Linked DNA regions of Homo sapiens: regions 2 and 3 are each linked to region 1. Evidence: promoter capture Hi-C in 16 types of primary human blood cells and fetal thymus (Javierre and others, 2016). All regions are on one chromosome and are shown on one strand. The core of a region is centred on a gene start or on the middle of the fragment in contact, and the rest is flanking DNA. Distances in the headings are between cores, read along the strand shown. Region 1 holds the start of CNDP2 (carnosine dipeptidase 2). Region 2 has its middle 7.1 kb from the start of ZNF516-DT. Region 3 overlaps ZNF236-DT (ZNF236 divergent transcript).

Evidence for each region. The method cuts DNA at HindIII sites, captures the fragments that hold promoters and counts their contacts. A CHiCAGO score of 5 or more calls a contact.
Region 2: a fragment that was not itself captured here is called in contact with the fragment with the promoter of CNDP2 in region 1 in 1 of 17 cell types (M0 macrophages); the score reaches 6.0 in M0 macrophages.
Region 3: a contact is called between a fragment that was not itself captured here and the fragment with the promoter of CNDP2 in region 1, in 1 of 17 cell types (activated CD4 T cells). The highest score is 5.8, in activated CD4 T cells.

What each region holds. Positions count from the first base shown.
Region 1 is chr18:74,495,107-74,497,806 of GRCh38, reverse strand. It overlaps CNDP2 (carnosine dipeptidase 2), which reads right to left and starts at 1,444. Exons shown (of 12, transcript NM_018235.3): 1 at 1,376-1,444. RefSeq lists enhancers at 336-435, 819-1,331, 1,889-2,158 and silencers at 929-978, 1,109-1,618. The HindIII fragment of the contact is 6,969 bases long and covers 1-2,700 here.
Region 2 is chr18:76,501,075-76,503,774 of GRCh38, reverse strand. No RefSeq gene overlaps it. Among named protein-coding and RNA genes, the nearest start is that of ZNF516-DT, 7.1 kb to the right of the region's middle. The HindIII fragment of the contact is 1,120 bases long and covers 836-1,955 here.
Region 3 is chr18:76,801,995-76,804,722 of GRCh38, reverse strand. All of the region lies in intron 2 of ZNF236-DT (ZNF236 divergent transcript), which reads left to right. Among named protein-coding and RNA genes, the nearest start is that of ZNF236-DT, 19 kb to the left of the region's middle. RefSeq lists a silencer at 2,398-2,447. The HindIII fragment of the contact is 441 bases long and covers 1,037-1,477 here.

The DNA.
Region 1 (2,700 bases), core at 195-2,694:
AGTAACTTTATTTATTTATTTAGAGACAGGTTGTCATTCTGTCACCCAGGCAGGAGTGCATTGCTGTGATTTTGGCTCACTGCAACCTCTGTCTCCCAGGCTCAAATGATCCTCCTGCCTCAGCTTCCCAAGTAGCTGGGACTGCAGGTGCGCACCACCACACCCAGCTAATTTTTGTATTTTTTGTAGAGACGGGGTTTGCTCGTGTTACTCAGGCTGGTCTCGAACTCCTGGACTCAAGCGATCTGTCCGCCTTGGTCTCCCAAAGTGCCGAGGTTACACACATGAGCCACCATGCCTGGCAAGGGAGTAACATGATTTAAATGTTGAGACTAGTGGAGGGCAGGAGAAATTGCTGTGGCACCTGGAACCGTCAGTAGTACACACAAATGAGTCTTCTAGTTCTGAGAATCTCAGTCCCTGTCCCTTGATAATTGAAGGCATATATAACACAAATAACTGAATCACACCTTCATGTCTGATTAAGAACCAATAAAAGAATCTCCAATCTGCCCAAGCTAGAACTTGATCCCTAAGCATAATGTGGACTTCTCTTCCTCCACTCCTGCCTGCAAACATTAGGGACAAGGAAGGTATTGGTAGCAGGCCCCGGGTTCTCCGCCTCTTCCTGCAGTCTATGCTTGGATGATCTACGGAATCTGACCTTGGCAGGCGGTGGGGAGTTTGGTTTGGTGGCCCTGTCTGTGAGGACCAAATATTGTCTCTATTTCACAGATGAGGAAACTGAAGCCAATTGAATAAGACACCTGCCCCAGACCATCAAGCTGGCATGGGAATTTTGTCTCCCCTCAGACGCTTCCTCCTATAGCCTTAAACGCTGCCTCAAATGCTGGCGGGAGCTAGGGACGCTGTCCAGGGCCCTTTGAACCTGGGAGGCTTCTGTCCCGCCACACTCCCCACCCCAGGTCTCCGGGAAAGGGATCCGTTGGAGAAAGGCTGGAGTTCTCAGCAGGCCCCTGGGGAGGGGTGTGGCCTGACCAGCGCTCGGCTCCCCGCAACCCCATCTCCAACCCGGGTCGTTCCACTCGACTCCACCAGGGAGGGCCACGCAGGCTCAGGCCAAGTGCGCCGCCCAGCTTGTCCCTGCGTACCGGGGACGCGCTCGGCGCTGCTGGGACACGAGTGGCCCGGAGGTGCGAGAGGCCCCGGGGCCATGGCCGTCACGGGCCTCCGCCCCCGACCGCGCGCTCGGGAACAGCCCGGACACCATTGTTCCCGCCTGGCTGCGGCCGGGCGCCCCACGCTCCCCCACGAATGAGGCGTGACTCTCGCCGCTGACCCGGGTCCTCCCCGCCCAGCCCGTTCCCAGCTCAGGGCGCCCACCCGGGAAGGAAGGTCCATCAGGAAGACCCACCTGGGAAGGAAGGCCCACTAGGCAAGGCCCTGTTACCAGCAGCAAGCGCGGCGCCGGTTCCGTACCACGTGTCCCGGCCACGACCCCCGGCGCTGGCCCGCCCCGCGGTCGCCCTGGCCACCAACCCCGCCTTGTCCGGAGGGCAGGCATCGCCACGCCCCCGCCACGCCCACCAATCCAGCCACAGGCAGAGGGGTGGTGTCACTCTCTCCCCGCCCCATTTCCGCCCTGAGCCAGGTGCGGAAGGTGACGTCACCTCTCCCAGCTCCATTTCCGTCCCGCCCACCAATCCCGGCCTGGTCCACAAGGCTTTCGCCTCGTCGCCCCTCCCCGACGGTAGACGGGGATGTGGGCGTGGCGAGGGGGCGGAGATTTCGTGGGTTGGGATTCAGGGGAGGCAGGGCACACGGGAGCGCGTGTCCGGAGCTGTGGGCTTGTGCTGTGCTTCCCGGTTGCTCTTGGGTGGGCGGGGGGCCTGGTGCTTCAACGGTGGGGTCCGAGAAGTCGCCTGCAGTGCGGCAATGGAGTCCAAAACTAGGGGGCCCTGACTCCACCCTCTGATCTCCCAGGCTCCGGAGGTCCCACGACGCTCCCATTCCCTTGCGCATCCAGCACTGCACTTTCCGTTGCGTTTCAGTCCCGGCGGAGTCGGGGCACGGACTCCTGCGGGTCACACAAGCTCCAATGAGAGGTCGGTCTGAACTGGATTAGGAAAGCGTTCGCCAGCATCGTTACCAGTAGTGGAAATATTTTAGTATTTGTGTCCCATGACCCTAGGAACTGATGAAGGAAGCAGAGCCAGCACCGTGTTTGAGCGTCTGCGACAGCGCTTTCCTTTTTAATCTTAACAACAATTCTTGGGGGTAAAATTGTTATTCCCTAGTCTGCTCACTTTTCCAATAGAGTGTTCTCAAAAGACTTTCTTTAAACTTGTACCACTACCACATTCTTTAAGGAGTGATGGCTCGGGAGTTATTATTTTTTAAAAATGAATTTAATAGTTGTAAGAGATGTATACGTTCCCACATAAAGTAAAATGTTAAAATTGTCTCCTCCCTTAAAATTTACATGGTTTGTTTCCTCTTTTTATATTTATTTATTTATTTATTTATTTATTTATTTAGAGACAGAGTCTTGCTCTGTTGCCATGCTGGAATGCAGTAGCCCAGTCTCAGCTCACTGCAAGCTCCGCCTCCCAGGTTCAAGCCATTCTGCCTCAGCCTCCCGAGTAGCTGGGACTGCAGGTGCGCACCACCGCACCCAGCTAATTTTTGTATTTTTAGTAGAGACAGGGTTTCACCATATTGGTCAAGATGGTCTCGATT
Region 2 (2,700 bases), core at 146-2,645, 2.0 Mb before region 1:
GAAACCCAAGCACTGCCCTACAGGGCCCTGCCTCGCAGTAGACAGGGCGCCTTGGGAGGAAGAGGCAGGCTGCAGTCACAGGGGAAGAGCATGACTGGGTCTTGAGTGAAAACAGTTTGTAAACATTCACACTTTGAGGTGTGAATCTCAGATTCTGCTAGGCATGGCCATACCAAGGACACTCTGAAAACAAACACAATTTAAAAATCCGCGGGAGAAAGGAATGGTTCTAGAAATGACTTCCAGTTCAAGAGTATTAGCACAATTAGAGATAACTTTTTATGCCTTCAGATATTTTAAAACATCTTAAATTAACATATAGTTTTATAATATTGATGATATCAACTGCTATTTGAGGAGGGGGCCTGTGCTATTAAGAAAATAACTTACATTTGCTCATACTAGTATAGTACGAAAACAGTTTTAAGTGATTTTCACATTTAAATTTTTCTCATTAAAAATAACTGTGTGATTCCCACTTTGCAGATAAAGTAATTGCTATAAATTCTCATTCAATTATGGGTTGATAGTTTTTGTCTCCAAATCCTTATGCGGCACACTGTCAGAATTTATTTGGTGACAGTGTCATTGTGAACAGAGTCCGTTACACTCTCATTTCACAGACAGCACAAATCTTGTAAACATAGTGCTTTTGTCTTTGCTTTGGGTACTAGGAAGCTCAGGGGAACATTCTGCTGCTTCTGACAGTTCAAAGGATGACTAGACATGTATCCACGTGTGCTGGTGTTAAGACTGGTTGAGCTGAAATTGATCCTGATTTTTCTGTTTTTCCACTCTTATTATTCCTGACCTCATTCTTCCCACTGCTGAAGCTTTTCTTTGTATTTTATATATTTTTTAAAGCCAGCTCAACTCCTTTGAGAAACCAAATGAAACATTTGCATGGAGATTCTGTCTCCACCAGCTAGTTAGTAGGTATTCTTGCACAAATATGTAGCACATATTAGGTATGTGGAAGACTAACAACACTTTGTGATAAGCGGCAAATGCCAAAGTGCATGATGACGTAAACAGAACCAGAAGCTGCATAGCTTACACAAGCGCAAATGACCAATAAGCAGAACGAGAACTGGACATGAGAGTGTGTGACAAGTTCCTAAACATATTGTGAGAAGACACATATTTGGCCCTGTCCGTCTATAAAATTATCTTTAAAATAGCCAGGGCTGTCGTGTTTCAGCTGCGTACAGCTCAATGTAGGTGGATGTATGGGTTGGCGTCATGGTCGAGGCTATTTCTAAATCCATGGCTGACATTCGCCAACTCTGAGAGACGGGCGGGACTGTGAACTCTGGGTCTCTCCTTCAGCATCTGCCAAATGGGACAATAGTGGCACCTACCTCATGGGTTATTGTGATATATTAAGTGACATAAAATGTAAGCTCTTAGGAAGATTCCCTACATAATAAGCATGTAATACATACTGCTTTTAAAATGAGCACTTGATCTAGTGCCTGCCTTACAGAGTAAATGTGGAATAAATAAGTAAATGCACAGATATGAAAAATTAAGATTTAGAAGTTTCTTAAACTTTTGTCATTTTTTAAATGATGACTCCTTGCCTGAAATTTTTTTTAGATTTTCAGTGTATAAAATGTTTTAGCCATCTCGTATCACTTCCCCACATTTTCCTTTTGCCATTTACCATAAGGCTGCCATGAAAAACAAAAGTGCACAAAAGTGTGAGAATTTATACAATTTACTCACTCAATTAGCGTGATCAAACTATTTGTCTCTTTACAAAAATTTCATTTTGATTCCCCAAGTTTAACTTAATGCCATTGGTTTAACATCTGTTTGGAGCACACCAAAACACCTCTGTCTATTCTAAAATGGAATGCTTCAGTCATGCCCAGAGATCCACACCTGTCCTAGTTCAGTCCCCAGAAAGATAAATTCTCTTAATGAAGGTTTTTCCTTGGGGCCAGGAAGCTTGGGGGTGCCTTAGTGCTCGGCCACGTTCATGAACCCACCTCAAGTGCCTGACGTGTCAACCACTCTGTTTCTTTATATTGACTGCAAGTTTAGTTTTCTGATTTTTAGTATGCCTGGGCGTTACATCTTTTCTCCTTCTTTTTTTAAAATTTTTTTAATTTTTTTATTTTTTAGATAGAGTCTCGCTCTGTCTCCCAGGCTGGAGTGCAGTGGCGCGATCTTGGCTCACTGCAACCTCCCGCTCCGTGGTTCAAGCAATTCTCCTGCCTCAGCCTTCCAAGCAGCTGGGACTACAGGTGCCCGCTACCACGCCTGGCTAATTTTTGTATTTTTAGTAGAGACGGGGTTTCACAGTGTTGGCCAGGATGGTCTCGAACTCCTGACCTTAGGTGATCCACCCACCTCGGCCTCCCAAAGTGCTGGGATTACGGGCGTGAGCCACTGTGCCCGCCCCCCACTTTCTTTCTTTTTCTTAAAGTCATCTGCTTGTAAGTCGTAAATAAGCTCTGAAAATACTAACCAGAAAGAATTTAACACCAATTTGGCCATAGGGTGGCTTCATGTTGTTACGGTTTCCATTTGGGAAGGAGGTAAGTCTTTCTGTCATATTTCTTTTGAAGCTTACAAGGTGAGAAAAGACAAAGACAGCCAAATAAGGAAATCAATCATTTTAGGTAACAGAAGAAAAATTCTTGAGAATTGTTTTTGGTGAAATTACAGTCACTCTGTTTTTATTATTTATTT
Region 3 (2,728 bases), core at 8-2,507, 2.3 Mb before region 1:
TTGAACTCCCAACCTCAGGTGATCCGCCCGCCTTGGCCTCCCAAAGTGCTGGGATTATAGGCGTCAGCCACCAGGCACAGCCTACAGATTTGGTTTTCAATATCACTTGACATGCACAAAGTACGGGTGAACAAGCACTTTTATTCTTTTTTCTTTTTTTCTTTTTTTTTTTTTTCTTTTTGAGATGGAGTCTCGCTCTGTTGCCCAGGCTAGAGTGCAGTGGCGCAATCTTGGCTCACTGCAACCTCTGCCTCCCAGGCTCAAGAGATTCTCCCACCTCAGCCTCCCGAGCAGCTGGGATTAGGACCACCACGCCTGGCTAACTTTTGTATTTTTAGTAGAGACAGGGTTTCACCATGTTGGCCAGGCTGGTCTCAAACTCCTGACCTCAGGTGATCCTCCCGCCTCGGCCTCCCCTCAGCTGGGATTACAGGCGTGAGCCACCGTGCCTGGCCACAAGCACCTTTTTTCTTTATCTCCTATGTTTGAAATTAAAATGAAAAAAATGTATAAACCTTATTTAATTAACAAGTGATGAGTCATTTTTAGTAAATGGACCTAAATACCTTAAGAAAGCCATCAAGTGTCAAATAGAGAGATGTAAGCTACCATGGAGAGCCTTTCGGGACGTATGGAAGGAACCAGTTTGCAATGACAACATGCTGTGGGTGGTGCCTACCTACACTGAAAGATTCGGATGGGTTTTTCAGAGTGCCCTCTTCACTGTCTTCCTTCACCCAGCCCGCCTCCTCTTCCAGGACTCCGACCCACTTTCCTCCTGCGCCCTCTAGTGTCTGTCTGCTTTTCCGTTCCCCCCATTTCTACCTTAGGATTTTTCTGTGCCTTTCATTCATCCTCCGTCTGCGTCTCCCGTGGTACTGACTTCAAAACCCCTGACTGTACCGAAACTCGGTGTGAACGAGGACTGCAGTGCTGCTGGGGATGCATTCTCCATTTGTACTTGAAGAGTTACGTCAAAACCTAAACTGTAGGCCTGACAGATAATGATAATTTGTCTATGGCAAAAACATAAGCTTAACTGCCTATCCTAATATAACAGGAAGCTAAACTATTTATACTGAACTGAATTCTCCTACATTTACAACTCATAAACCTGCAGCTTCCTGGACAGGCAGCAGACACTCCCAAACTCCGCTGTGTCCTAGTATATAATACTTTCGGCCAACCTACATGTGTAACTTACATCATTTTCAGAATATGAATGCTTCAAGTGGCATATTAGACATTAATAATTTAAGCAATGAAATTAACTGATACAGAATATATAGGTAAATAATAAAAGAAGTAATTAAAAATCTTTGTTTCATCAGTTCATATTAGCTATATATGTTCTCAAGTCTCAAAGAAAAGGTATTATTTCAAAGCAACTTAAAAAATATTTAAAAATTAGCACCCTATAGTTCTCATTTAATAAGTTAAATGGGTAATTAATTGGCATTTTATTTCAATAGAAGCTTATTTCAAAAAGCTTTCTACAGAGTTATTTTGTGTAAAATGGTAATTATGCCCACAATTTTCTAAATGAAGCTTGCAGAAAGGGCTCATTTTTGCCATAAACATAATTTTCATTGATGTTTCCCTTAAAGACAAATGTTTCCTTCACTGAAATAGACTTTTGGAAATTGTTTAATTATTTTTACCTTGGCAATTATGTCACCTTCCTTGAATATCCTCATTAATTACATTGCCACTGGTACCTCTGAAGTATTTGGTGTTTTCTTAAGTTCTTTAAGCTCTTTATTTTATTTTATTTTATTTATTTATTTTTTGAGACAGTCTCGCTCTGTCGCTCAGGCTGGAATGCAGCGGCCTGATCCCGGCTCCCTGCAACCTCTGCCTCCCGGGTTCATGTAATTCTCCTGCCTCAGCCTCCGGAGTAGCTGGGATTACAGGCTCGCACCACCAAGCCCGGCTAATTTTGGTATTTTTAGTAGAGACAGGTTTTGCCATGTTGCCCGGGCTGGTCTCAAACTCCTGACTGCAAGTGACCCGCCTGCCTGGGCCTAAGTTCTTTAAGATCTTAATGTAGAGTCTGAAAAGAGGGTTTCAGTCTGGGATTAAGTGCCTTTTTTTTTTTTTTTTTTTTTTTTTGCGACGGAGTCTCCTGCCTCAGCCTCCCTAGTAGCTGGGACTACAGGCGCGCACCACCATGCCCAGCTAAGTTTTTGTATTTTTAGTAGGGATAGGATTTCGCCATGTTGGCCAGGATGTTCTCAAACTCCCAACCTCAGGTGATCCGCCCACCTCGGCCTCCTGAAGTGCTGGGATAACACGTGTGAGCCACCGCTCCCGGCCAAGTGCCAATTACTTAATATTCCTAACTTTTTAACATATCCTAAAATACAACTCCACACCCAAGTTCAGGCGCTCGCGGATGGTCTTTTGTTGGCCGCACTCCTCCCTCCGGCTCTGCTCCAGCCCAGCCCCAGCCTCCTACCCTGGGGGCACCGCTGTCCCGCGGCCGAAGAAGCTGCGCCGCACCGGCCTCTGCCGCCACCTGGCGCCCGGCCGGGGCACGACGCACTGGACACCTTCCTAATAATATGAGCCGCACGCTCCCGTGGGGCACCCCTGACCCTCGCGGCCGCGCGTCTCAGCGCCCCTTCCGTGGGCTGCGGGTCTCACCCCCCAATCCCACTCCCACGTGGGCCCAGGTTCCTTCCGGGTTGAAAGCAGGGAACCTGCAGAGCTCACTCATCCTAAAAAC